Regions from separate parts of the Homo sapiens genome. Here regions 2, 3, 4, 5, 6 and 7 are each linked to region 1. The links are contacts of gene promoters, found by promoter capture Hi-C in blood cells and fetal thymus (Javierre and others, 2016). All regions are on one chromosome and are shown on one strand. Each heading gives the region's core, a stretch centred on a gene start or on the middle of the fragment in contact. The rest is flanking DNA. Distances are from core to core; before and after follow the strand shown.

What was found. Contacts are between HindIII fragments. The CHiCAGO score rates a contact against its expected background, and 5 or more counts as called.
Region 2: a contact is called between a fragment that was not itself captured here and the fragment with the promoter of GSAP in region 1, in 1 of 17 cell types (total B cells). The highest score is 5.3, in total B cells.
Region 3: a contact is called between a fragment that was not itself captured here and the fragment with the promoter of GSAP in region 1, in 1 of 17 cell types (total B cells). The highest score is 6.6, in total B cells.
Region 4: a contact is called between a fragment that was not itself captured here and the fragment with the promoter of GSAP in region 1, in 1 of 17 cell types (total B cells). The highest score is 5.1, in total B cells.
Region 5: a fragment that was not itself captured here is called in contact with the fragment with the promoter of GSAP in region 1 in 12 of 17 cell types (monocytes, neutrophils, M2 macrophages and 9 more); the score reaches 13.9 in monocytes.
Region 6: a fragment that was not itself captured here is called in contact with the fragment with the promoter of GSAP in region 1 in 1 of 17 cell types (neutrophils); the score reaches 7.4 in neutrophils.
Region 7: a contact is called between a fragment that was not itself captured here and the fragment with the promoter of GSAP in region 1, in 6 of 17 cell types (total B cells, neutrophils, monocytes and 3 more). The highest score is 7.9, in total B cells.

Annotation. Positions count from the first base shown.
Region 1 is chr7:77,414,741-77,418,222 of GRCh38, forward strand. GSAP (gamma-secretase activating protein) reads right to left here and starts at 1,609. Exons shown (of 31, transcript NM_017439.4): 1 at 1,473-1,609. The coding sequence starts at 1,581. LOC101927243 (a long non-coding RNA gene) reads left to right here and starts at 458. Exons shown (of 5, transcript NR_110073.1): 1 at 458-608. RefSeq lists silencers at 775-1,064, 1,125-1,334, 1,555-1,904. The HindIII fragment of the contact is 1,753 bases long and covers 1,058-2,810 here.
Region 2 is chr7:77,864,659-77,868,140 of GRCh38, forward strand. The region is part of intron 2 of PHTF2 (putative homeodomain transcription factor 2); the gene reads left to right. Among named protein-coding and RNA genes, the nearest start is that of PHTF2, 68 kb to the left of the region's middle. The HindIII fragment of the contact is 7,462 bases long and covers 1-3,482 here.
Region 3 is chr7:77,842,671-77,846,152 of GRCh38, forward strand. The region is part of intron 2 of PHTF2 (putative homeodomain transcription factor 2); the gene reads left to right. Among named protein-coding and RNA genes, the nearest start is that of PHTF2, 46 kb to the left of the region's middle. The HindIII fragment of the contact is 2,758 bases long and covers 473-3,230 here.
Region 4 is chr7:77,820,306-77,823,787 of GRCh38, forward strand. All of the region lies in intron 1 of PHTF2 (putative homeodomain transcription factor 2), which reads left to right. Among named protein-coding and RNA genes, the nearest start is that of PHTF2, 23 kb to the left of the region's middle. The HindIII fragment of the contact is 7,723 bases long and covers 1-3,482 here.
Region 5 is chr7:77,736,542-77,740,023 of GRCh38, forward strand. All of the region lies in intron 2 of RSBN1L (round spermatid basic protein 1 like), which reads left to right. Among named protein-coding and RNA genes, the nearest start is that of RSBN1L, 42 kb to the left of the region's middle. The HindIII fragment of the contact is 3,463 bases long and covers 204-3,482 here.
Region 6 is chr7:77,717,808-77,721,289 of GRCh38, forward strand. The region is part of intron 1 of RSBN1L (round spermatid basic protein 1 like); the gene reads left to right. Among named protein-coding and RNA genes, the nearest start is that of RSBN1L, 23 kb to the left of the region's middle. The HindIII fragment of the contact is 6,731 bases long and covers 1-3,482 here.
Region 7 is chr7:77,701,417-77,704,898 of GRCh38, forward strand. The region is part of intron 1 of RSBN1L (round spermatid basic protein 1 like); the gene reads left to right. Among named protein-coding and RNA genes, the nearest start is that of RSBN1L, 6.7 kb to the left of the region's middle. The HindIII fragment of the contact is 9,574 bases long and covers 1-3,482 here.

The DNA of each region.
Region 1 (3,482 bases), core at 359-2,858:
AAAGTGGGAGTCCAGAAAAAGGAGTACTTGGTAGTAGAAGACAGAGCTGCCTGTTGTATTTCAAAAAGTTAAGCCTTCAAAAACTTTTCAGACATGTGGGCGACTTTTTTTTTTTTTTTTTTTTTTTTTTTTTTTGAGACGGAGACTTACTCTGTTGCCCAGGCTGGAGTGCAGTGGCGAGATCTCGGCTCACTGCAACCTCTGCCTCCCAGGTTCAAGCGATTCTCCTGCCTCAGCCTCCCGAGTAGCTGGGATTACAGGAGCGTGTCACCACGCCCAGCTAATTTTTGTATAAAATTCTTCCTTGACCACCCTCTCCACCTCGAAAAAAAGTAAAGCCTTACTAAGCATGACACTAATGCAAACTCAATGCATACGCTACACAAACATATAACTCCTTATTTGGAGCTAATAATATTCCAAGCCAAGGAAACCTACAAATAATTTCGCTATAGTCATAGGAGAGTGTGAAGATACAAGATAGCAACTTGATATATAACTCACATCAAGAAAACTTTCACCAGCGTTTAAGGGAAAGGAGTTGTAGATGTGGGTCATTTAATACCCACTTCCAAATTCACTGAAGTGGACAGCGCCCTACACACAAGGTGAGACCTACAGGCATCATTGCTTTGAAGCTGCATTTAAGCTCTGAAGCTCCAATATTTATAGAAGACTTTTAAAACTTTGTAAGAAATCACAAAGTTCCCCTTCTTTAAAACAGATCAGTGCTGGGAAGGCTCAAAAGTCACTTTCACTCCCTTACCAAATCATCAAAAAGCCCGGAGTGGCAGGGCCGGGAGCCGAGCATCTCGCGCGCAGCCCCAGCCTGCACAGGTGCGGAGCTCGGGGGCGGCTGGGGGCTCTCGCCCCGCCGCGCGCAGCCTGGAGGCGGCCCCTGCCCTCTTGCGCCTCACCGCCGAGGCCCATGTCCCCTGAGCCACGGACACGGTTCAACAGACACATAAACACGTCTCGCAAATGTGGGGACAAACTGTTCCACCGTTAGGTATAGGGTGGTTTGCTTGGTGGTCACGGATTCTTTCTCAAAACGTGAAGCTTCCAGGAGCACTCCTGTCTTGGCAAAGCCCCTGCGCTGCCGATGAACCCCCCGGGAGGTGGGATGCGGCCGCTGAGCTGAGCACGACCCTCTGCCCTCGCCGTGAGGTGATGCTGAGGGAACCGCCAGCGGCCCGGCCCCTCTGCCAAGGGCGAATTTCCGCGGGCCGGCAGCGAGCCAGGCGCCTCAGGCCCCACGGCGACCTGGCCCGGGCTCTGCCCCCAGACCTTCCGCCGTGGCTGGGTGTGGGTGGCAAAGCCAAAACAGCCCTCTGAGGAGGGGAGCGACGCCCTCGCACCAGCCTTCTCAGGGCGGCGACGCCCCGGGTTGCTCCCCACCGGGTCGGAGTCCGGGGGGTATGAGGGACTCCCACTCCCCGCCCCCACCCCTCTCCGCAGCGCGCCTCCCGCACCTGCGCCGCCGCTTCCGGCCCCGCTGGCCTCCGACACTGCCCGCTGCGCCCGCAACCACGGGAGCACGTCCTTCCCGAGGTCGAAGTCGGCGACCAGGCGAAGAGCCATCGCCCGGACACGACCACCGGGCGGCTCTGGGGCCCCGCACCGCGGGCATTCCCGGCCCCGCGTGGCCGCCTCGCCCTCGCGTCCCCGCTCCCGCCCCCTCTTTCCTCTCCCCCGCCCCCTGCTGCTTTCGGTTCTGCAGCGCCCTGGCCTGAGAAGCTCCGGCACCAGCTCCTCCCGGCCGGCGGCCCGCACCTGAGCCGGAGCCGGAGCCGGGCACGGCGGGTAGCGGTGGGGCGGGGTGGACCAGGCGCCAGGACCAGGCCCGCCGGGGCGGGAGGCCTCCGCGCGCACCTTCGGGGCTGAGGATAGAGGGCGCAAAGACGTGGGCGCTTCAGGGCCTTGGCGAGGCCGCTAGCCCAGTGGCTTCCAAACCTGGAGGGTCGGCCTATTTTCTTTATTCTACAAGTGCCTCCACTGTGCAGCAAAGTGTGGAAACCACTTGGCTTGAGAGAGCTGGGTCCTCTGGAGCAGTTCAGGGTCACCACAGAAGTAGGCCGTCTCTTGGGCCTATTCGCCCCAGCTTCGAGGTGGTGGTGCTTTATTAGTGTTATTAAGGTAATGAGTAGCAACTGGGAGCGTATGACGAAGGTGATCCCATTGTAAGAGAAACGCTAAAAGGGGTTAATGCGCTTGATACAAACAGCGTCCTTTTTGCCTTTTAACTCTAGTACATCTCATTTGATGCCTTGAGACATGAAAACTGAATCTTAAGTCTCCACGCAAACCCTCTGCCTCCCACCAGGGTCTAACAGAGCACTCTGGAAGGTGCTCGACAATTACTGAAGAATGAGTGAATACAGTAATAAAGAATGCTTTTTCACATGCTTCCGAAATTAAGGTCTGAAAACTACTTGTATTGACGTCATCTGGGGCACTATTTTACAATGCAGACTCCTGATCTCTACACCTGGACAAGACCAGAAACGTGCATTTTACCCAGAGCCTCGGGTGATTCTTAGGCTTACTAAGTTTGAAAACTACTCCAACCAAATGTAAAAGAAAGTCTTGAATTTTTTTCCCTCCTAGAGACATGTTTCTCCAACTGAGGTAATGGATGATTTCAGGTAGAACTCCATTACTCACCACCATATACAGAGGAAAGTCCTCCCACCCGGGAAGTGCATGCAAATTTAAGATAAATGCCTAATGAAGCTGCTAATATTATCAGTGAATAAAAGGAAGGCCACTGGAGCCCCCAAGGAGCTAATGCAACTATTTCATATCAAATAAGCTTGTTGCCTTTGTCATACAGAAACACTGTTGGCCAATTTTTTAAAGTCAGTACATTTCCATTGTTTTTATTTTTGCAGTTAACTTCTATTTTTGCCAGGCAGGACTGATTTTATAGTCAAGCAGTGATGATATAAAAAATTCTCTTCAAATTAAGTGAAAAAGCCAATGTAAAGAAGGTGAGAAACAATAAGATAATGATAGAAAGATGTGGCCAAAATCATGAGGGTGCTATATGAAGGCATGTGTATCAGTTAGGATTAGATTCTCCAGAAGTTAATAAGAACTCAGATTAACAGTAAATTAAACACACAAGTTTTATTCTGTCACCTAGCTGGACGTAGGCAGAATAAAGCTCTTAGGGCAGGTTCCTGAATTTATCAGGGACCCAGGCTCCTTCCAGTTCTTTGCTCCACCTGATCCTGAGTGTACCCTTGTCCTCATGATCAAAGAGGGCTGCAGAAGCTTCAGCCTTCACGTCTGCATTCCAGAAATCAGAATGGAAGAAGAGGAATAAAAAGAGGATGCTACCTCTCTTTTAAGGATACTTCCCGGAAGTTCTACACAACATTTCTACGTATGTTTCACTCACCAGAATTTAGTCACATGGCCAAATGTAGCTTTCAAGGGAGGCAAGGAAATATACCTGGCCATTGCTGTGCCCAGATAAA
Region 2 (3,482 bases), core at 435-2,934, 450 kb after region 1:
GCTGGCATCTTCCCCTCACGGATATCTTTCATAATCCCCTGAAAACTGGATTAGGTATCTCCTCCTGCTAGTGCTCCTATGGGAAAGTTGTGTGTGTTCTTTTTGTGGCAGTGGTATAGCGCTTTTTTTTTTTCTTGATTCTTTCTCTTTACAGTTTACAGAGTAATATTGTAGTTACCTAGCATCCTCCAAAGGTCACCACTGTGTTGCTTGTTTGTTTAATTATCATTATGAACTTATGGCTTTAAAGATATTTCATATGTTTCCACCTGTTGGAGTTATTGTCCATAATAATGTCTTTCCCATTGTCAGACAGATTGTTCTGTCTTAATAATAGGAGCTTATTTAGGTTGGCTTCTGAATCTTTTTGACATGACCCTAGTAGTATGATAGTATTCACTGAGGAAAAAAATTTGAAATGGGAGCAATTGTTTCTGCATGGAGACAGGGAAAGCTACAGAGAGATCTTGATCCTCTTTTACCATCCTAGATATAAACATTCTGAGATGTTCCATATAAGCTAAATTCATTCTGCTCCATTTAACAATAATTACCTGGGAATCTCCTCTTTTTTCTTTTTTTTTTTAGACAGAGTCTCGCTCTGTTGCCCAGGCTGGAGTGCAGTGGCACGATCTCAGCTCACTGCAACCTCTGCTTCCCGGGTTCAAGCGATTCTCCTGCCTCAGCCCCCTGAGTAGCTGGGACTACAGGCATGCGTCACCATGCCTGGCTAATTTTTGTATTTTTAGTAGAGACGGGGTTTCACCATGTTAGTCAGGCTTGGTCTCAAACTCCTGACCTCATGTTCCACCCAGCGCAGCCTCCTAAAGTGCTGGCATTATAGATGTGAGCCATGTCACCCAGCCAATCTCTTTTATAATATCAATTATTATTCTACTTCTGTATTACAGTGGTATTTTGTTTATTCTACTGCTTATTACAGCCTGACTTGATAATTAATCTCCCCTGCTAATCCATGAGAGTAAGAATCATTATCTTTATATCGCCATTATTTCAGGGTCTTACTGTATACTTGGTACTTGGTAAATGTTTACTGCTTTGATAACAGTGCTGTCAGGAGACAGTATTTATATTAAACTTCTAATTTATATAGTTTTTTATTCTTAAATTAAGTACCTTTGATGTGCCATGTATCAAGCCAGGCACTTATTTCAAGGGACTTGATTTGAGTTGTCAAATCTGTGAAATAGGCTCTTTATACTGATTATTACATTAAGTATTAGGCTGGGCTCGGTGGCTCATGCCTGTAATCCCAGTACTTTGGGAGGCGAAGGCGGGCAGATCTCTTGAGGTCAGGAGTTCAAGACCAGCCTGGCCAATATGGTGAAACCATGTCTCTACTAAAAATACAAAAATTAGTCAGGCATGGTGGTGCACACCTGTAGTCCCAGCTATTTGGGAGGCCGAGGCAGGAGAATCACTTGAACTTGGGAGGCAGAGGTTGCAGTGAGTCAAGATCACACCACCACACTCCTGCCTGGATGACAGAGCGAGACTACCTCTCCAAAAAAAAAAAAAAAAAAAATTATTAAACGTAATAGTTTATTCTGTAGTAACATTTCCTGAAGTGTGCTCTACATGATGTTAATAAGTATTAGGAGAATAAAAGGATTTTGTAGTCAAATCAGTTTGGGAAATATTGAGTGAGACACAGGCAAACAAGTTATATGATTTCAGGATTTTCCAGTGCAAATAATGTGCAGTTGACTGTCTAAGAGGCAGACAGAGAAAATATCATTTCTCAATTTATTTGACTTAATTTTTTCCCCTGAGTATCTGTTGAACATACTTAGGAAAATACTGGCCTGTGGTTAACAAGTTACGTAAAAGAGTGTGGTGCAGTGGAAAGGGCATGGAATTGGAAGTCAGAAGCTGGGTTTTACCATCTGTAAAACCTGACGTCTCTTAAAGCCTCAATTGTCTCGTCAGTAAAAAAAAAAAGTTAATACTGGTCTGTACAGCATAAGATTGTTCTCTTTAATGGTCTCTTATTTGATTTCAAATGAATGAATAGCAATAATATGTTAGGTATTTTTAAAATAAGTAACCAAGTTATGTTAATATTTTTGGCATTTAAATTGCCTTAAAATATGACATAGCTTTTCTTGTTATAGTAAACTATTAGAAATATGTAAACAAGGATGGTGCTGTAGCCTTGATTTATATTTTGTACACATGATTTAGTCAGGGTTATGTTTTAGAATGATAAACCAGAGTATATGCTATGATGAGTAGTAAAAGAATGCAAATAGGCATATACATTCTTTCCTTGTCACATGCTGCAATATGAAGGAAAAGGAAGCATTAGGTAATAGCCAGATGACATAATGGTTAATTATTGAGCTTTTGCATGTCTGTTCCTGTTGTTTGCTCCATACATATTAGTACATTTAGTCCTTATAATTACCCTTTGATTAATAATACTAATTATTTTACATGTTGTTAAGGCTAAGTTGGACTTCTTGAAGAGTTTTGTGTATTTTTATTTGCTTTTTAAATAAGCCCTGACAGCTTGCCTGCTGGCAAGATAGCCCACAGAAGGTAATACAGGGAGAAGTATATGACAATGATTAGGGATTAAATGTAACCCTTCCCAGACATCTCTTAGTGATCAGAACCAAGGCAAGTGAACGTAGGGTCGTTTTTGTGGATGGATATTAATGAAATTACTGGTGGGTAAGAGCACAGCTATGGAGCCAGGTTGTCTGTGTTTGAATTCCTGTTTATTGCTACTATTTAACCTTGTACAGCCTAAGTCTTTATACTGTAAACATAGAGATAGCTGTAATACCTACTTAATAGTGCTGTGAGAATTAAATAAGTTAATACGTGGAAGGGGTATCAGCACTTGATAAATGCTGACTACTTATTATTGCTGTTATTGTAATATTGTGAACATTAACTGCCTCAACTGGCATTTGAGGAGTAAAAAGCAGAGACATTAGTATACTTCAGTAACTGTGGTTGGACTTTCTATCCAAGGTGGGGGAAAGGGCGCAGCTAAGGAGTTCTGGTGTATCATAGGAAAAAATTATCTAATAGTAGATAGCAGTTGACAAGAGTATGTGAGAGCTTTCATTTTTTTCTCCTGACATCATCTTAGATTGGGTGATAGACAGTGTAATAAAGTAAATACTTAATCTACAGCTTGATGCTGTAAAACATCTGTGCAGTTCTCCTTTACATACGATCTTTTGTTTTAGTAGATTGATGAATCCCTGTTTAAGGAATTTACAAAGTTGGCAGAACTTTAAAGCAAGTTGTATTCTAGGGGGCAAATCATGCCCAGTACCTTTTATAAAGTAGTTAATACAGATGAGAGGATATCATAAATATACCCATTAATGTTAAGAAACATTTCCTTTTTTCCCCCCATTCTATATAAAGTACCTTGGTGGAAACTTCCCAGTCTCCTTGGATGGCATTTAGCCTTTTATATGTGAAAGAAGTAATAAAATTGG
Region 3 (3,482 bases), core at 602-3,101, 430 kb after region 1:
GTTCTCCCACTCCTCATCCTAATAACTTTTGATGGAATACTGGCATTTATGGGTGGGAGTCAGAGATACAAAATGTCGTACAACATTCTAAACTAGGATTGGATTGACTGACTTTTTCTTTAAAGGGCCAGATAGTAAATAATTTAGGTTTTGAGTCATAGGTCTCTGCTGCAACCACTCAACCTTGCCTTGCCATTGTAGCACAAAAGCAGCCATAGACACTATATAAAATTAATGAGCATGGCTGTGTTCCAGTAAAACTTAATTTACAAAAGCAGGCAAGGGTCTAGATTTGACCTGTAGGCCTTGATTTGCTGACCCACACTCTAAGACAGCCTTTGTTGAATAACACCATTTTTAAAAATGATATTTCATGTTTTGAAGCATGCCTGCCTTGTTTTTTCTTGGTCATTTTATTGTAGATGTTACTTGTTGACTTCTGACTATATGATTAGGATTTAGCTTTTTTATAAGCTTCCCCTAAGTTTCCCCCCTCTATCATCCCAGTGACTCCAAATTTTGGTAAAATCAGTATTTGGTGCTTACATTATTATGTTTGTGTATGTATCATTTAAAGATATGTTATGTTGTAATATTTCCAATCTGTGTAACTTTTTTTCCCCTTTGCTTGGTTTTACGAATTCTTTTTCTAAGTCTCTGATGAAATTGTAACACTTCTCTTATTGCAGTCAGTCATATTCAGGTTTATCTCTTCCCTTTTTCCTTTCTTGGAACTGACTCTCCTAGAATTCTCTGTTCATCTAGTCCATACTGAATAGATTGTTCTTAAGTCATGTCTCCCGGCTGCCATCTTAGTATTTTCTTTTATCATTAGCCTGAGGGTTCCCCTCACTGGCTTAGGTCACACAGATCTGTTTTTCTCTTAAATATATGCTTACTAAAAAAAATTTTTAGAGGCATTTGTACTTCAGTGAAATGAAGGCAGGAGAACTGCAGCTGTACTTACTGATTATTTAACCACAGGTGAATAACTTTATTTCTTTGAGTCTCAATTTCCACTTTTCTACATTGACTAGCTAATGGTTCTCAGCCTCTTTTCAATCATGGACCCCTTTGTGTTGAAAGCCAAGGATCATATTTTGAGAAAAATGTATACAATATACATATACAGAAAATAACACATCTGTCTTAAAACCCAGGTTAAGAAGTCCTGGATTATATGATTTTTAAAAGTTTTAATATTATAATGTTCTTTGATTTTGTGACTATCATTCAATAGTATCCAGCTTATACTGAGTAGTATCCTTGTAAATAAAAACCAAAAACATTTATCTTCATTTTCTTGAATATTTGTTTGGTTAGTAACTCACTTCTTTTTATTTTTGAGGGAGGGTCTCACTTTGTCACCCAGGCTGAAGTGCAGTGGTGTGAACACGGCTCACTGCAGCCTCGACCTCCTGGGCTCAAACGATCCTCCTGCCTCAGCCCCCCAAGTAGCTGGAACTACAGGCTCATGCCACCACACCCACCTAACTTTTGTATTTTTTTGACGGGATTTCACCATGTTTCCCAGGCTGGTCTCAAACTTCTGGCCTCAAGCGATCCTCCTGCCTTGGACTCCCGAAGTGCTGGGATTGCAGGCCTGAGCCACTGTGCCCAACCATAACTCACTTTAGAGTCACCTTTCTCCACTAGAAAATTGTGACGTTTTTATATTTATGATTTGAATACTGAATGGCCAAAAACCATCACTTGATTTGTAGACTCTTTTGAACATGAGCTCTAATATCAGATGTGAAATTTCCAGGAGAAAATGAAAACAAACTTTGAAATTATTATAAATGCGTACAGAAATTCTACTTAATTATCAAGTATTTTTGAATAAGTTATTCTTTTGTTTTGTTTTTTTGTTGAGACAGAGTTTCACTCTTTCACCCTGGCTGGAGTCAGTGGTACGATCTTGGCTCACAGCAACCTCTGCCTCTTGGGTTCAAGCAATTCTCCTGCCTCAGCCTCCCCAGTAGCTGGGATTACAGGCAGGTGCTACTACGGCCAGCTAATTTTTGTATTTTTAGTAGTGATGAGGTTTTGCTGTGTTGGCCAGGCTGGTCTCGAAATCTTGACCTCATGCGATTTGCCCACCGTAGCCTCCTAAAGTGCTGGGATTACAGGCATGAGCCATTGCACCCGGCCTAAATAAATTATTCTATGCATGGTTTATTTTGACATTTTAAAAGTCCTTTAATATCCAATTTTAAACTTCATTTTATCCTATTGTAGCCTTCATAGTTATGAATAATTTTAAAATTCCTGTTGGTCCAGAGTAATTTTCAGTTATTAACTTGGAGGAACTGTTAATGCAACAAGAATGACAACAGGGGAGAAACCAGAATAGTTTTTAGTTAATAATGAGCTGTTGAATGTGTTTTGTGGCAAAATACTCTGCTTTCATATATCTAGTTTCTCATTTCCAAGGAGAGGGAATGGAGTTACTTATCTTTTGGAAGTTATTTGAAATAGGGACCTGAAATTACATGTATTGAAAGATAATTGACACACTAAGTATTCCTTTAAACAATATAGTGACCTGTAAGATTCCACTGTGACTGTGCAGATAAAATTATGAGAGAATGAGGTTCTATTTTCACTAGGTAAATATATAAGAGAAGAGTGGCTTAGAAAAACTCCCCAAATTTAAAAGGGAAAAAAAGCACTGGCAACATTGTATAGTCATAGTAAAACAGTGAATTTAGCTTATAGGGCTGAGGAAGAACTGTATGATACAGATCTTGGTCATTGTCTTTAAGGAGTCAGTTGCCAATGAGAAAACTAATGAATATGTTTAATGGCCTTTAAATATGAGCCAGCTTTGGGATTCATTTAGTAATTTAAATGAGAAACTAGCCTGAGTAACATGAACTTGACTGGTAACTGCTATCAATTGTAAATAGTTGGGAACTTTAAATTTTCCACCTTTTTGGTAAAGTTCAGCCATGTTAATGTGTGTGTGGGCATGCACACGTGTGTGTGTGTATGTGTGTGTACTTAAGTATGTGTAGGGCATTTCAGAGTACTAACTTGCCTAAGATTGCACAGATGGCTCAAAAGTATTAAGTCTCAGCTTTCAACTCCAAAACCATGTGCAGTCATTTAATATTATCCTTCCTCCATCAGTCTCCTGGATTCTTTCGCAGGTAAGACAAATCTAACTCAAACTATCTTAAAGGGGAAATTTATTGGCTTTCAAGCTAAACCGTGCTGAGTAGTGAAGCTTTTCTCAGGGTTTACTTAATCCCAAGACCAGAGCACCATCAGATGTGTCCGTCTGCCTCTTTTTTTCCTATTGCTTTTCTAGAGTTGGCTTATTCCTTCCCATCACAGATGCCTTTCTCCATGTTGTGAGAATAAGCCCCAAGGTCCCTCCATACCCCTTCTCTTTTAGCTCCTTGAGAAGAAAGGATGTGTGGAGGACCGCCATATGGGGGTTTCCTACCCAAAATTATTCCTGACCTTTTTTCCTG
Region 4 (3,482 bases), core at 557-3,056, 410 kb after region 1:
CTCTAGGTGTTCAAATTTATTTGTGTATAGTTGTATGTTTTTTTGTTTTATTCTGTTTTGTTTTTTTAGACAGGGTCTCACTGTCTCCCAGGCCAGAGTGCACAGGCGTGATCATAGCTCACTGTAACCTCAAACTTCTGGGTTCAAGCAATCCTCCTGCTCCAGCCTTCTGAGTGGCTAGGACTATAGGTGTGCACCACCATTCCCAGCTAATGTGTGTGTGTGCGTGTGTGTGTGTTTGTGTATACGTATATTAGAGATAGAGTTTTGCTTTGTTGCCCAGGCTGGTCTTGAACTCCTGGAATCAAGTGATCCTTCCTCCCCAGTCTCCCAAAGCAGTGGGATTACAAGCATGAGCCACTGCACTCATCCCAAGTTGTTCATAGTTCAGCATTTCTGTGGTATCTGTTGAAAAGTCTCCTTTTTGATTAAATGGGGAATTTAATCCGTTTACATTCAAGGTGATTATTGATAAGTGAGGCCTTCTCCTGTCATTTTATTGATTGTTTTCTTCTTGTTTTCTATTTCCTTTTTTCCTCTCTTATTGTTTATTTTTGTGGTTGGGTAGTTTTCTGTAATAAGATTTGGTTCTTTTCTCTTTCTTCTTTATCAACTCTACTGGTGAGTTTTATAGTTTCACATGTTTTTATGATGGTGGTTATCATCCTTTTACTTCCAACTGTGAGACTCCCTTGAGCATTTCTTATAAGGCTGGCTTAGTGGTGATGAATTTACTGAGTTTTTGCCTGTCTATGAAAGGTTTTATTTCTCCTTCATTTCTGAAAGATAGCTTTGCTGGATATAATATTCTTGGATGGCAGTTTTTTTTTTTTCTTTTCAATATTTTGAATATATCATCTCATTCTCTGCTGGCCTGTAAGGCTTCTACTGAGAAATCTGTTATTAGTCTAATGGGAATTCCATTGTATGTGACTTGATGTTTTCTCTTGGTTTTAGAATTTCTTTGTGTTTGTCTTTTGACAATTTGAATATATTTTGCCTTGGAGAGGATCTATTTGGGTTGCGTCTATTTGAGGTTCATTGAGCTTCCCGGACCTAGATGTCCATCTCTCTCCCAATATTTGGGAAATTTGCAGCTGTTATTTCATTAAATATGTTTCCTTACCTTTTCCCTTCTCTTCTGCTTGGCTGGCCTGTGGATGTATGTATCTGCTGTAGATGGCCCGTGGGGCTGTTTCTCAGGTTTGGGACATGGGTACAAGGCTGCTCGGGGAGCTCAGGAGTGTGTCCACCATAGATGGCCCTCAGAGCTGTTTCTCAGGCCCTTGACATGGCTTCACAACTTCTTGGCTGGTGTGGGACATGCCCCACATGGAGCTGTTTATAGGCCCAGGAGCAGGCACAGGGCTGCTCAGCCAGCCTGGGAATGAATCTGTCTACCGGGGGGGCCCACAGGACTTTCTCAGGTTTGGGATGCAGATGCAAGGCTGCTTGGCTGGCTCAGGGGTGTGGCTCAGGAGTGAGCCCTCCATAGGCCCACAAGTGATATGTTTGCTAGAGGTGGCCCACAGGGATGTTACTCAGGTCCAGTCATGGGCTCATGGCTGCTTGGATGGGCTGAGGGTATGCCTACCAGGAGCAGCCTGCTGTGCCCAGGGACAGGACTGTTTCTTAGACCTTGATTGCAGGTGGAGAGCTGAGGGCATGTCTGCAGTGGGGGAGTGCTGTAGGGCTGTGTCTCAGGACCTGAGTGCAGATGTGTAGCCTCTCTGCCAGCCCGAGGGATGTATCAGCTGCTTAGAGACGTGGGGGGCACTCTTCCACTTGGAGGGCATATAGCAGTTTTCTCTGGCTCAAGGGCAGGTTTGCCTTAGGTGGGAGTGCCAGACTGTTCCTCTGACTGGAAGTGTGGCAGTGGCAGCAGAGTGTTGGGGAGCAGAGGGGAAGGGAGGTTGGTTTCCCTGCTGTGCAGGACTGGAGTCACAGCCGATCCTGGGCCCAGGCTTTGCATAGTTGGGGTTGTGGTTTTCAGCCACCCATGTGAGTGTGATGGAATGAAGATGGAGCCCCAGTGCTAGAGAAGTTCACTGGCTACTAACCTCCAGAGCAGGGTGCACTCCAGAGGTGGCTCTGGTCTCAAGATGGCACCATGCTGCAGCAGCTTTTCTCACAGGGAGTGGTTGGGTGGGGGAGGGGAGTGTGCACCCTGTGCTCCTAATCTGGGGCAGCGCAGCTGCATGAATTCCTGGCAGCTCTCCAGACTGGGCTTGGGGCTTGCAAGGACTGTGGGATTCTCCTGTAGTAAGGATTGTAGGTGTTTGCAGTGGCAGTGGGGGCTGGTAGGGATCTTCTGCTTACCTTTTCCCTGAAATGGGAAGTCCCTCCTGACTCTGGGCTGATCCAGTCTGGGTTGGGGAGACAGGGCTGCAGTGGCCAGGTACTTCCATGCTGCCCTCCAATCTCATCACGTGCATCTCCAGTTTCTCGCTGCACCCTAGTACTCTCCCATTGACACTCAAGCTGAATCTTAGCTGTTTATGTGATGCCTAGGTTCTTTCTTATTGGGGGGATGAGTGCTGGGTGTCTCTAGTCAGTCATCTTATTGATGTCACCCTCTGAAATTAAAAATATTTAAATCTTTTTTTTTTTTTTTTTTGAGACGGAGTCTCGCTCTGTCGCCCAGGCTGGAGTGCAGTGGCGCGATCTCGGCTCACCGCAAGCTCCGCCTCCCGGGTTCACGCCATTCTCCTGCCTCAGCCTCCCGAGTAGCTGGGACTACAGGCGCCCGCTACCACGCCCGGCTAATTTTTTCTATTTTTAGTAGAGACGGGGTTTCACCGTGTTAGCCAGGATGGTCTCAATCTCCTGACCTCGTGATCCACCCGCCTCGGCCTCCCAAAGTGCTGGGATTACAGGCGTGAGCCACCGCGCCCGGCCAAATATTTAAATCTTAAATTACTCTCTTTTTTTTTGGAGACGGAGTCTCGCTCTGTCGCCAGGCTGGAGTGCAGTAGCATGATCTTGGCTCTCTGCAACCTCTGCCTCCCGGGTTCAAGGGATTCTTCTGCCTCAGCCTCCCGAGTAGTTGGGACTACAGGCACACGCCACCACACCCAGCTAATTTTTGTATTTTTAGTAGAGATAGGGTTTCACCATGTTGGCCAGGATGGTCTCGATGTCTTGACCTCGTGATCCACCCATCTTGGCCTACCAAAGTGTTGGGATTACAGGCCTGAGCCACCGTGCCTGGCCTGAATCTTAAATTACTCTTTAAGTAGTGGAGTTATTTGAACACCATGGCTTATATGTTCTCACAATTTAATTTCCTTAGAAGGAATTGAGGTAACTTTTCAAATAGATCAGAACAAGGAGAAAGTTATTTTAGACAAGGAATATTACCTGGAGTAGAAGGCAGGCATGAAAGTATATGGTATATTTGTGAACCTGTGTAGCTAGAATGTAAGGTATGTGTAGCTAGAATGTATGGATGGGAGGTTGGGGAGGGCGGGTAATTGAAACTG
Region 5 (3,482 bases), core at 685-3,184, 320 kb after region 1:
TGATTTTAGTTCTACTTTATTATACTGTTCAGTATCTTTATTGGCTAAGTGAATAAAATAAGAAATGTTATTTGGTGCTGAATTTTGCGGAGAATGAACAATGATGAGGAAATGAAAAGTAAATGTAACAACGGAGAGTTCTAATCTGTATGGTAACATGTCTTATAGTATATTTAGTGAGCCATTAAAAAGTTAAAAGGTTAAGCTTCGTTAAACTTAATTTCTTAAATTATTTTAAAATAAGTTAATTCTATGTTTGCATTACTAGTCTTACTCATATTTAGATAATCTAAAAGGAAGAAATTAAGAAAAATTGCCAAAGCAAGTTTTAGTATGATAGGGATGGTGAAGTAAGTGATCTTCTTAAAAATATTTGACTGTCATCACCATACCATAGTCTAGCATTTAGAGGGAACATTTTACTCTGAGCTAAATCAGAAGCGGTATGTTTCTTGTATGTTTAAGAATATCCTTGTTTTATTCTTTTTTTTCTCTGTTACAGTTGCATTCATTTGCTGTTTATATATGAGGGTGGGGTGGAGAGAAGAATTTGGGGGGTAGGTGGTTGGGTAATAAGTATACTGCAAATCCTGTCAATAAGTCTGAACTTGTAAAGAGAGAATTTGTGGTAGAATAGACGTAAGGATAGTCTTAAATTCACTCAGATGTCAAGGTAAGAAGAATCCGTGGCATTCGGTTGCTAGACAACTAGCGAATTCACTAGCTAGCAAATTTACTAGTGCTATCATGTTGATAGTTGATGATGAGAATATGTTGACCTTGATTAACTTCATATTGAATTTAATTGTTGATAAGGCTTTATATTTGCTTGAGGGGGAAAGACCACGACACTGCATATGTAGCAAAATAACTGGTAGTTTATATTATCTAAGATAAAGAGTATTAGATTCTGTATTTTCATTGCATTCTTTGTCATGTTTTCAGATATTCGTTTTCTATTATCTACATGTCAGAACTTCATTTTCTACGATATTCTTTCAACCTTGAAGAAATACGTCAGAGCTTAAGTTGATGGCTGCTTATTAGTTAATGCTCATGATCCTTTTGTTCTGTTTCTTTTGCCTGCATATTCTATCTGTGTTGTCTAATTAGATTGTAAGCCTTTGAGGCAGGAATTGAATATAACCACACTAGTTATTTATAGCAGCTAGTGATGAATGCTTGAAAAGTCTGCTTAAGGCCAGGTTCGGTCGCTCATGCCTGTAATCCCAGCAATTTGGGAGGCCGAGGCGGGTGGATCACTTGAGGTCAGGAGTTTGAGACCAGCCTGGCCGATGTGGTGAAACCTCGTCTCTACTAAAAATGAAAAATTAGTGGGGCATGATGGTGGACATCTGTAATCCCAGCTACTGGGGAGGCTGAGGCATGAGAATTGCCTGAACCCGGGAGACAAGAGGTTGCAGTGAGCTGAGATCACCCCACTGTACTCCAGCCTGGGCAATAGAGTGAGATTCAGTCTCAAAAAAAAAAAAAGAAAAGAAAAAGTCAAGTCTACTTAACTTTACCCTTGGTTTAGCCCAATAGCCATTTTTTTTTCTGATTTAATCAAATAGTTTTCTTATTCATTTGAAAATATCATGCTGTAAATTCTATTACTTGAGAAGGAATCTGTTTTAGAAATACTTTATAAAAGCCTCATATGTTCTTGATTGAATACTGGATTCCTAACATAATGTGAATTATGTGAATCCAGAGATTACACATGAAAATAAAATTTAAAACAGCCTAAAAATTGAGATTTTTAAAAAATGAAATATACGATATTAACTTTGAAGTAGACAAAAATTTAGGTGATATTTTGAACCGAGTTAAACTGAAACTAGTGATGATTAAGGTAAAAGAATGAGATAGATGTGGAAATTAATTTGTGACTTCTGGGATGTCCATGGAAAAATTTAGGGAAAATGTATTCACAGTGGAGGTAAGTAATAATTTAATTACTGCCTTACAGTGTTACCAAGATTAAATGAGGGAAAGTATGAGGAAAGTGCCAAGTATAGAATCTGGCTCACAGGTACTTACTACTGAGTAGTAAATAGTTATGAAATCTTTCTTGTAAGTATGTATGAGAGATTAACTTTGTGATTAAAAAGCAACAAAATTGGCCAGGCACAGTGGCTGAAGCCTGTAATCCCAGCATTTTGGGAGGCCGAGGCAGGTGGATCACCTGAGGTCAAGAGTTCAAGACCAGCCTGGCCAAGTTGGTGAAACCCCATCTCTACTAAAAAATACAAAAAATTACGGTGGGTGCCTGTAATCCCAGCAACTCGGGAGGCTGAGGCATGTGAATCGCTTGAACCCAGGAGGCGGAGGTTGCGGTGAGCCAAGATGGTGCCACTGCACTCCAGCCTGGGCAACAGAGAGAGACTCCATCTCAAAAAAACAAAAAACAAAAAACACCAATAAAACCAAACTATCTCCTCTCCTCAGTGTGTAGTACATAGATAATTAAGTGAATAAACACATGATTCATTGGGAAAACAGTGCTTGTCGCATTGAAAGCACTGAGTGTTATCTGTTGTTACTATCTACGAGAAAGAATTTGCTTAGTATGTGGGGCCATTTCCCAAGTGAGCCTGTGGTGGTGGTAGGGAAAGGCATCTTTTGTTGTTGGTGACTTGGAACAACAAATCATTTACTTTGCTGAGGGAAAATATACTTTCATTTACTACTGTGTGCCACTTTTTTCCTTGTGGCCTCCAACTTTTATTCTATCCTTGTAATTTTTTTCTTCTGTTAATGATAATGTTGCAAGCTGTGGTATACACAGGTGTTGATGGATGATGGCATTTGAAAATCTAAAATAGATGTCAAGTATGTCACACCAATTCATTTTCTCCAGGTTTTTCTTAAAAATTGTGTCAGGTAGGCTGGGCGCAGTGTCTCACGCCTGTAATCCCAGCACTTTGGGAGGCCAAGGCGGGTGGGCCACTTGAAGCTAGGAGTTTGAGACCAGCTTGGCCAACCTGGTGAAACCCCATCTCTACTAAAAATAGAAAAATTAGCCGGGCGTGGTGGCGCTCGTCTGTAATCCCAGCTACTCGTGAGGCTGAGGCAGGAGAATTGCTTGAACCCAGGAGGCAAAGGCTGCAGCCGAGATTGTGCCACTGCACTCCAGCCTGGGTGACAGAGCAAGACTTGGTCTCAGGAAAAAAAAAAAAAAAAAAAAAATGTGTCTTTTTTTTTTTTTTTTTTTTTTTTTTTTTGAGAGGAGTCTTGCTCTGTCATCCAGGCTGGAGTGCAGTGGCGCGATCTCGGCTCACTGCAAACTCTGCCTCCTGGGTTCAAGCAGTTTTCCTGCCCCAGCCTCCTGAGTAGCTGGGATTACAGCCGCACGCCGCCATGCCTAGGGCTAATTTTTTGTATTTTAGTAGAGACAGGGTTTCACCATGTTGCCCAGGCTGATGGCGAACTCCTGAGGTCAGGCAGCCTGCCTGACCCGGCCTCCCAAAGTGCTGGGA
Region 6 (3,482 bases), core at 465-2,964, 300 kb after region 1:
AGGAGTTCAAGACCAGCCTGGCCAACATGGTGAAACCCTGTCTCTACTAAAAAATATATAAATTAGCTGGGCGTGGTGCTGTGTGCCTGTAATCTCAGCTACTTGGGAGGCTGAGGCAGGAGAATCACTGGAACCTGGCAGGCGGAGGCTGCAGTGAGCCGAGATCGTGCTGCTGCACTCCAGTCGGGGCGACAGAGCGAGACTGTGTCTCAGAAAAGAAAGGGAGAAGAGATGTAGGAGAGGAGATATTTGAGAGAAACTTTGAAAGGGCAGTATGGTAGGATTTCAGCAAAGAGATAAAGGAGTTGTGGGGAGAGAGAACATTATATGAACTAATATTCATGGCAGCTAGATAGGAAAAGCGAGCTCTACAATGTCACAGAAGTTATGGGAGGAAATAATTTCAAGGCGTTTGATTGTGTTTATAGCTCTGACATTATATATTAAGCCTTTTTTCTTTTAGCCCTTCACTTCTTGATTTTAATATATCAGTGTATTTTGTTTTATGTTTTTTGAGACTGAGTCTCACTGTTGCCTAGGCTGGTAGGCACTGGTGCAATCACGGCTTCAACTTCTGGGCTCAGTTGATCCTCCCACCTCAGTCTCCTGAGTAACTGGGACTACAAGTGCACGACCACACCTGGCTAATTTTTTTGTATTTTTTATAGAGATGAGGTTTTATCATGTTTGCCAGGCTGGTCTCAAACTCCTGGGTTCAAGCAATCTGCCTGCCCCGGCCTCTCAAAGTGCTAGATTACAGGTGTGAGCCACCGCACCTGGCCCATCAGTGTATTTTGTAAGACAGTTTTCTACTTTAACATTTTTCTAGAGTCAGTGCATGTCTTGTATATACTTAAACAAAACAACTTTTTCATTATCTATAATAAGACTTTGTGAAGGCTGAATTATCTCTTAATGCATAACAAACTGCCCTAAAATTTTGTGGTTTGAAACAATAACCATTTTATTATATCAGATGATTTTGTGAATCACAAATTCTGGCATGATTGGCTGGGTGATTTCCTCTGCTTCACGCAGTGTTGACTGGAGTTGCTCATTGGTGTTGAGTTGGTGGCTGGTCTGGTATGGAAGGTCCAAGATGACTTTACTCACGTGCCTGTTGCTGTGTTATGTATGGCTAGATACTGAACTGAGTGAACCCTTCTCTTTCTCCAAGTTGTTTCAGGACCATTCCACATGGTCTGTTAATTAGGAAGTTGGATTTCTTACGTGGCAGCTCAGGACTCCAAGAGTCTTGACACCCAGCGACATAGGTGGAAACAGCAAGTCTTCTTATGACTTAGCTTTGGAAGTCTGAACCAATTTCTCACTGCACATACATTAGGGCACATAATGTATGTGTGTTTTGGAAAATTTCACTTGGAGCACATTCCAATTGAATTAAGATTGATAAAGCATCTGTAGGTGTGTATCTAATGATGTTAGCTAAATATACAACTTTTAAAAAATGTAGAACTTTAATTGGTTGTGTGAAAAAGTGTAACTAAGAGTATATAACAAGTACAACGAGAGTCTGGTTCCCATAGTTACATATGCCCACACATATTGTTATCATTAAGAACTATGTATATGATTTACCATTTGCATTACAGAGTATAATTTAAATTGTAATAAATAATGTAATTGTATAATGTGGACTTAGAGGTCTAAGAATGCCCCAGGTTGTATATATGTGAAACAATCACGTTTGATATAGTAGCTATAGACACACGATTCAGTGATTTAAAGTGATTTAATTCTGTAACCAGATACCACCTACAATATCTTAGTACTTCATATCTTGGTTTTATAATATGTTGAGAACAGACGAAATGCTTTTATTTCTGCTCTGGAGACCAATCTTTTCTGATAGTTTAGTGAGGAAAACCTGAGCTAAAATTTTTCACAGGCCACTTTATCATGTTATGCCTGGCATGGTTTTTATGTATATATGTATTTAAAAAAATTTTTTTTAGAGACAAGGTCTCACTCTGTTGCTCAGGTTGGAGTGCAGTGGTGTGATCATGGCTCACTGCAGCCTCAGACTCCTGGGCTCAAGTGATCCATCTGACTGAGCCTTCTGAGTAGCCAGTACTATAGGTGCGCACCACTGTGCCTGGCTAATTATTGTATTTTCCGTAGAGAAAGGGTCTCGCCATATTGTCCAGGCTGGCCTTGAACTCCTGGCCTCAAGCCATCCTCCCACCTTGTCCTCCAAAGTGCTGGGATTGCAGGTGTGAGCCACTGTTCCCAGCTGTATGTGTCCTTTTTTATTTTCCTCTTACTCTTTGTGTGTTCTTGTGACTATTGTTATTGTAGTATTTTTGTAACTCTTTGTTACTGGGTGCTTTTGTAATAAAATTCTGTTTATATTTAATAATAATAGCTACATTTGTCCAGTGCTTAAAATTAGGTATTGTGCATAGTGTTGGAAATAATGCATATGTTGCCTTGTTATAAAAATTGTAAAAGGCTGGGCGTGGTGGCTCGTGCCTATAATCTTAGCACTTTGGGAGGCCAAGGTGGGTGGATCACCTGAGGTTGGGAGTTCAAGACCAGACTGACCAACATGGAGAAACCCCGGGTCTACTAAAAATACAAAATTAGCTGGGCGTGGTGCTGCATGCCCGTAATCCCAGCTACTCGGGAGGCTGAGGCAGAGAATCGCTTGAACCCGGGAGGCAGAGGTTGCGGTGAGCTGAGATCGTGCCATTGCACTCCAGCCTGGGCAACAAGAGCGAAACTCCGTTAAAAAAAAAATTGCAGAAGACAAGTGTTATTATCTATACAGATGAGATTACTGAGGCACAACACGGTTAAGTAACTTGCTTCATGTCACTTGATCAGTTATTGGCAGAGCTAGAATTTGAGCTTAATATGTATAATTACAAAGCCTGAATTATTTCTATTATATCACAATACATTTGGGGTTTCTTTCTTTTTCATTTTCTTTTTCTTTTTTTTTTTTTTTTTTTTGAGACAGAGTCTCACTCTGTCACCCAGGCTCGAGTGCAGTGGTGTGATCCTGGCTCACTGCAGCATCAGCCTCCCAGGTTCTCATCCCTCAGCCTCCTGAGTAGCTGGAATTACAGGCGTGGGCGACCTTGCCCGGCTACATTTTGTATTTTTAGTAGAGATGGGGTTTCACCATTTTGGTCATATGACCTCAAGTGATCTGCCTGCCTCGGCATGCCAAAGTGCTGGGATTACAGCGGTGAGCCACCGTGCCCAGCCTACTGCTTTTTTTCTTATGTGGATTTAACACTTATTTATGGCCCGCTTTGTGCTTGGGTGGTGGTGGAAGAAAGGGAGATACAAAGAGGAGAACTTTCTGTTTCTTGCCTTGAGATAATTTTTAATTTAATTGGAGAGATAAATAGCTGCAATGTAAAAGACACTGCTCATTGTTGGTAATTTTGTTTTTTTTTTTTCTGTGTATTGCTTTTTTGTCTTCTATGATTGCCTTCAAATGCTTATCAATA
Region 7 (3,482 bases), core at 331-2,830, 290 kb after region 1:
CTGGCAGTTAAGAGATTTCTGCATTGGAAATAATTTTCCCTCAAAAGTTTGAAGGTGGTGTTCCCTTATTGCCTGGTTCCCAAAGTAGATGTTAAGACGTCTGATCTCCAAAAAGTTGTCTATTCTACTATCTGGGGAATGTCAATCCTTTCACTGAATTTTATAATTTATATATTTTTTTCTTTGGTGTTTTTCTTCACATCTCACTCTTCCTTCTGAACTTTCACTGAATTTTACTTTTTTTTTTTTTTTTGAGATGGAGTCTTGCTCTGTTGCCTAGGCTGGAGTGCAGTGGCATGATCTTGGCTCACTGCAGTCTCTGCCTCCTGGGTTCAAGCAATTCTCCTGCCTCAGCCTCCCAAGTAGCTGGTATTACAGGTGTGCGCCACCACGCCCAGCTAATTTTTTGTATTTTTAGTAGAGATGGGGTTCCTCCATGTTGGCCGGGATGGTCTGGAACTCCTGGCCTCAGATGGTCTGTCTGCCTTGGCCTCCCAAAGTGCTGGGGTTATAGGCGTGAGCCACCGTGGCTGGCCTTGACTGAATTTTAAAGTTTTAGCTTTTGTTTTTTTGAGACGGTCTTGTACTGTCGCCCAGGCTGGAGTGCAATGCAGTTTTGGCTCCCTGCAACCTCTGCCTCCCAGGTTCGCATGATTCTCCTGCCTCAGCCTCCTGAGTAGCTGGGACTACAGGCGCACACCACCACACCCAGCTAATTTTTTGTATTTTTGAGTAGAGATAGGGTTTCACTGTGTTGGCCAGGCTGGTCTCCAACTCCTGACCTCATGATCCACCCGCCTTGGCCTCCCAAAGTGCTGGTATTACAGGTGTGAGCCACTGCGCCTGGAAAAGTTTAAGCCTTTAATAAGAATTTTTAAGAGCTCCTGTCCTTTGTTTCAGTATTATAGTATTTTGTTCCTTTTTCATGGGTGCAACGTTTTCTGTTTCCTCTTCAAGGATATTAATTACAGCTTCTTTGAGGTGTTCTTCTGTTCTCCCTATTATTTTTGGTTTTTCTTACTTATTTCTGTTTGTTTTGGTTGCTTTCTTTTAGTTGGAGGTTTTGTTCAGATCTTTGTGATCATGAGCAAGGTTAATGACTAATGGACTGCTGTGTTTTTAATCTTCATTTCTTTTCTCTGGGTGGTGGGCAAGAAGGCTTTCAGTTTCTTCAGATAGATGTCCTTTAATTTTCCTGTCTCTTTGTGGGTGGAATGATGGAGAGAGGAGGGGTGTCTTAGTCACTCGGGCTGCTATAATAAAATACCATAGAATGGGTGACTTAACAGAAATTAATTTTTTTATAATTCTGGTGGCTGGAAGCGTGAGGTCAGCATGCCATCATGGCCAGGTTCTGGTAAGGGCTCTTTTCCTGGTCTGTAGGTGACTGCCTTCTTCCTGTGTGCTCACATGACTTTTCCTATAATGGAAAGAAAAATCTCTTCCTTTTCTCTTTATAAAGCTACCAATTTTATTGGATTGGGACTGTGCCCTTTGACCTCATTTAATCTTAGTTACCTCCGAAAAGCCTTATTTTCAGATACAGTCACATTGGGCATTAAGGCTTCAACATATGGATTTTGGGGAGGCATGATTCAGTCCATAGTGAAGGGCTTGGCAGAGGTAATGAGTTTGTATGACAGGGTTCTAGCGCTTCATGGGGGAAGAAAGCTACAAGTCTTGTCATTCATTTCATAAGTTTTTACCTAGTCTCCCTGTTTTCATACCAGCATTTCACTTCTCTTTTCTGTGAGGGATACCCCTCATCTTGGAGCCACTCTGATTCAGTTTTACTGAGGACCATACCTCTTGTTTCCTTAGGAGTGTGTGTTTGTGGGTATTCTGCCCTATTTCCTAGCGCCCTCTGATTTCTGAGCTTTTCTGGGGTATTGCAGGATAAAGAGGATTGTTTGTCATTATCTCTCCCATTATGCTAAGGCATTTACCATTCTACCATCAGCTTTTTGTCTTTATACATTGTATTTCAGGTAATAGTTACAGTATCTCCTAGTTATGTCAGACGTGGAGTGTGTGTGTGTCTCTTTTTTCCTACTGTTTGGGTTTTTTTTTTTTTTTTTTTTTTTTTTTTTTGAGAAGGACTCTCACTATTTCACCCAGGCTGGAGTGCAGTGGCACAATCTTGCTCATTGCAACCTCTGCCTCCCAAGTTCAAGCGATTCTCCTGCCTCAGCCTCCCAAGTAGCTGGAACTACAGGTGCCCACCAACATGCCCAGCTAATTTTTGTATTTTTGTAGAGAAGGGGTTTCACTATGTTGGCCAGGCTGGTCTCGAACTCCTAACCTCAGGTGATCTGCCTGCCTCGGCCTCCCAAAGTGCTAGGATTACAGGCGTGAGCCACCGCGCTCGGCCTATTTGGGTATATTTTTAAGAGACAGGAATCTTGCTCTGTTGCCCAGGTTGGAATGCAGTGGCACAATCATAGCTCAATGTAACCTTGAACTCCTGAGCCCAAAGGATTCTCCTGCTTCACCCTCCCCAGTAGCTAGGACTACAGGTGTGCAACCACGCCCCGATACACTTACTCTTTTTGAGCTGATATACATCCGTTATAAAGGGATGATATTTTCACAGGGTGATTGTTAGAATTATGTGAACATGGTATATTGTAGAACCTGGCATATTGTTAGGCATTCATAAGGGATGCTAGTTCCTGACCTTTCTTTCATACCTAACGCATTGGAGACATGTAGTTTCACTGAATTCACAAGTAAGTATAATTTGTCTAATTTTCTCATGGTGTCCTGGTTTCTGAGACCATCTGATATGTTAGAATGAACAATACTAACTTTTTGAAAGAAGTTTGTATTTCAGAAGTTTTAAGTTGATTATAATAAATCTCATTAATTTTTCACCAATCTCAAATGAATTAAACTTTTCAAGTAATGGATAAACTACCTAAAATAGGATATTGAAAAATAATGATAAACTTAAAACTTCAAAACATTTTTATTTTTGAGTATACATTAAACTTTATGTTGTATGTTTTATTTTTTCTTGAATTACAGATTGAAAAGTTTAACTTTTTAATCATAAGATTTTAAATTAATACAAAAGAAACCAGTATACATTGAATTCTGGGTGTACCCATTATGCTACTTCAACAGTTTTTTTCACCTCCGCTCCTCCATTAATTTATTTATTTTTGGCTCTAGCATTTTAAAGCATATTCCAGACATAAATAATTTCATTAAGAAACAATTAGAGCTGATTTTTTTTTCCCATTAAGTAACTAATAGTGCTTATAAAGTTTAAATTGTGGCCAGGCGTGGTGGCTCATGCCTGTAAACCCAGCACTTTGGGAGGCTGAGGTGGGTGGATCACCTGGGGTCAAGGAGTTCGAGACTAGCCTGGCCAACATGGTAAAACCCTGTCTCTACCAAAAATACAAAAATTAGGTGTGTCGGGCGCCTGTTATCCCAGCTACTTGGGAGGCTGAGGCAGGAGAATCACTTGAACCTGG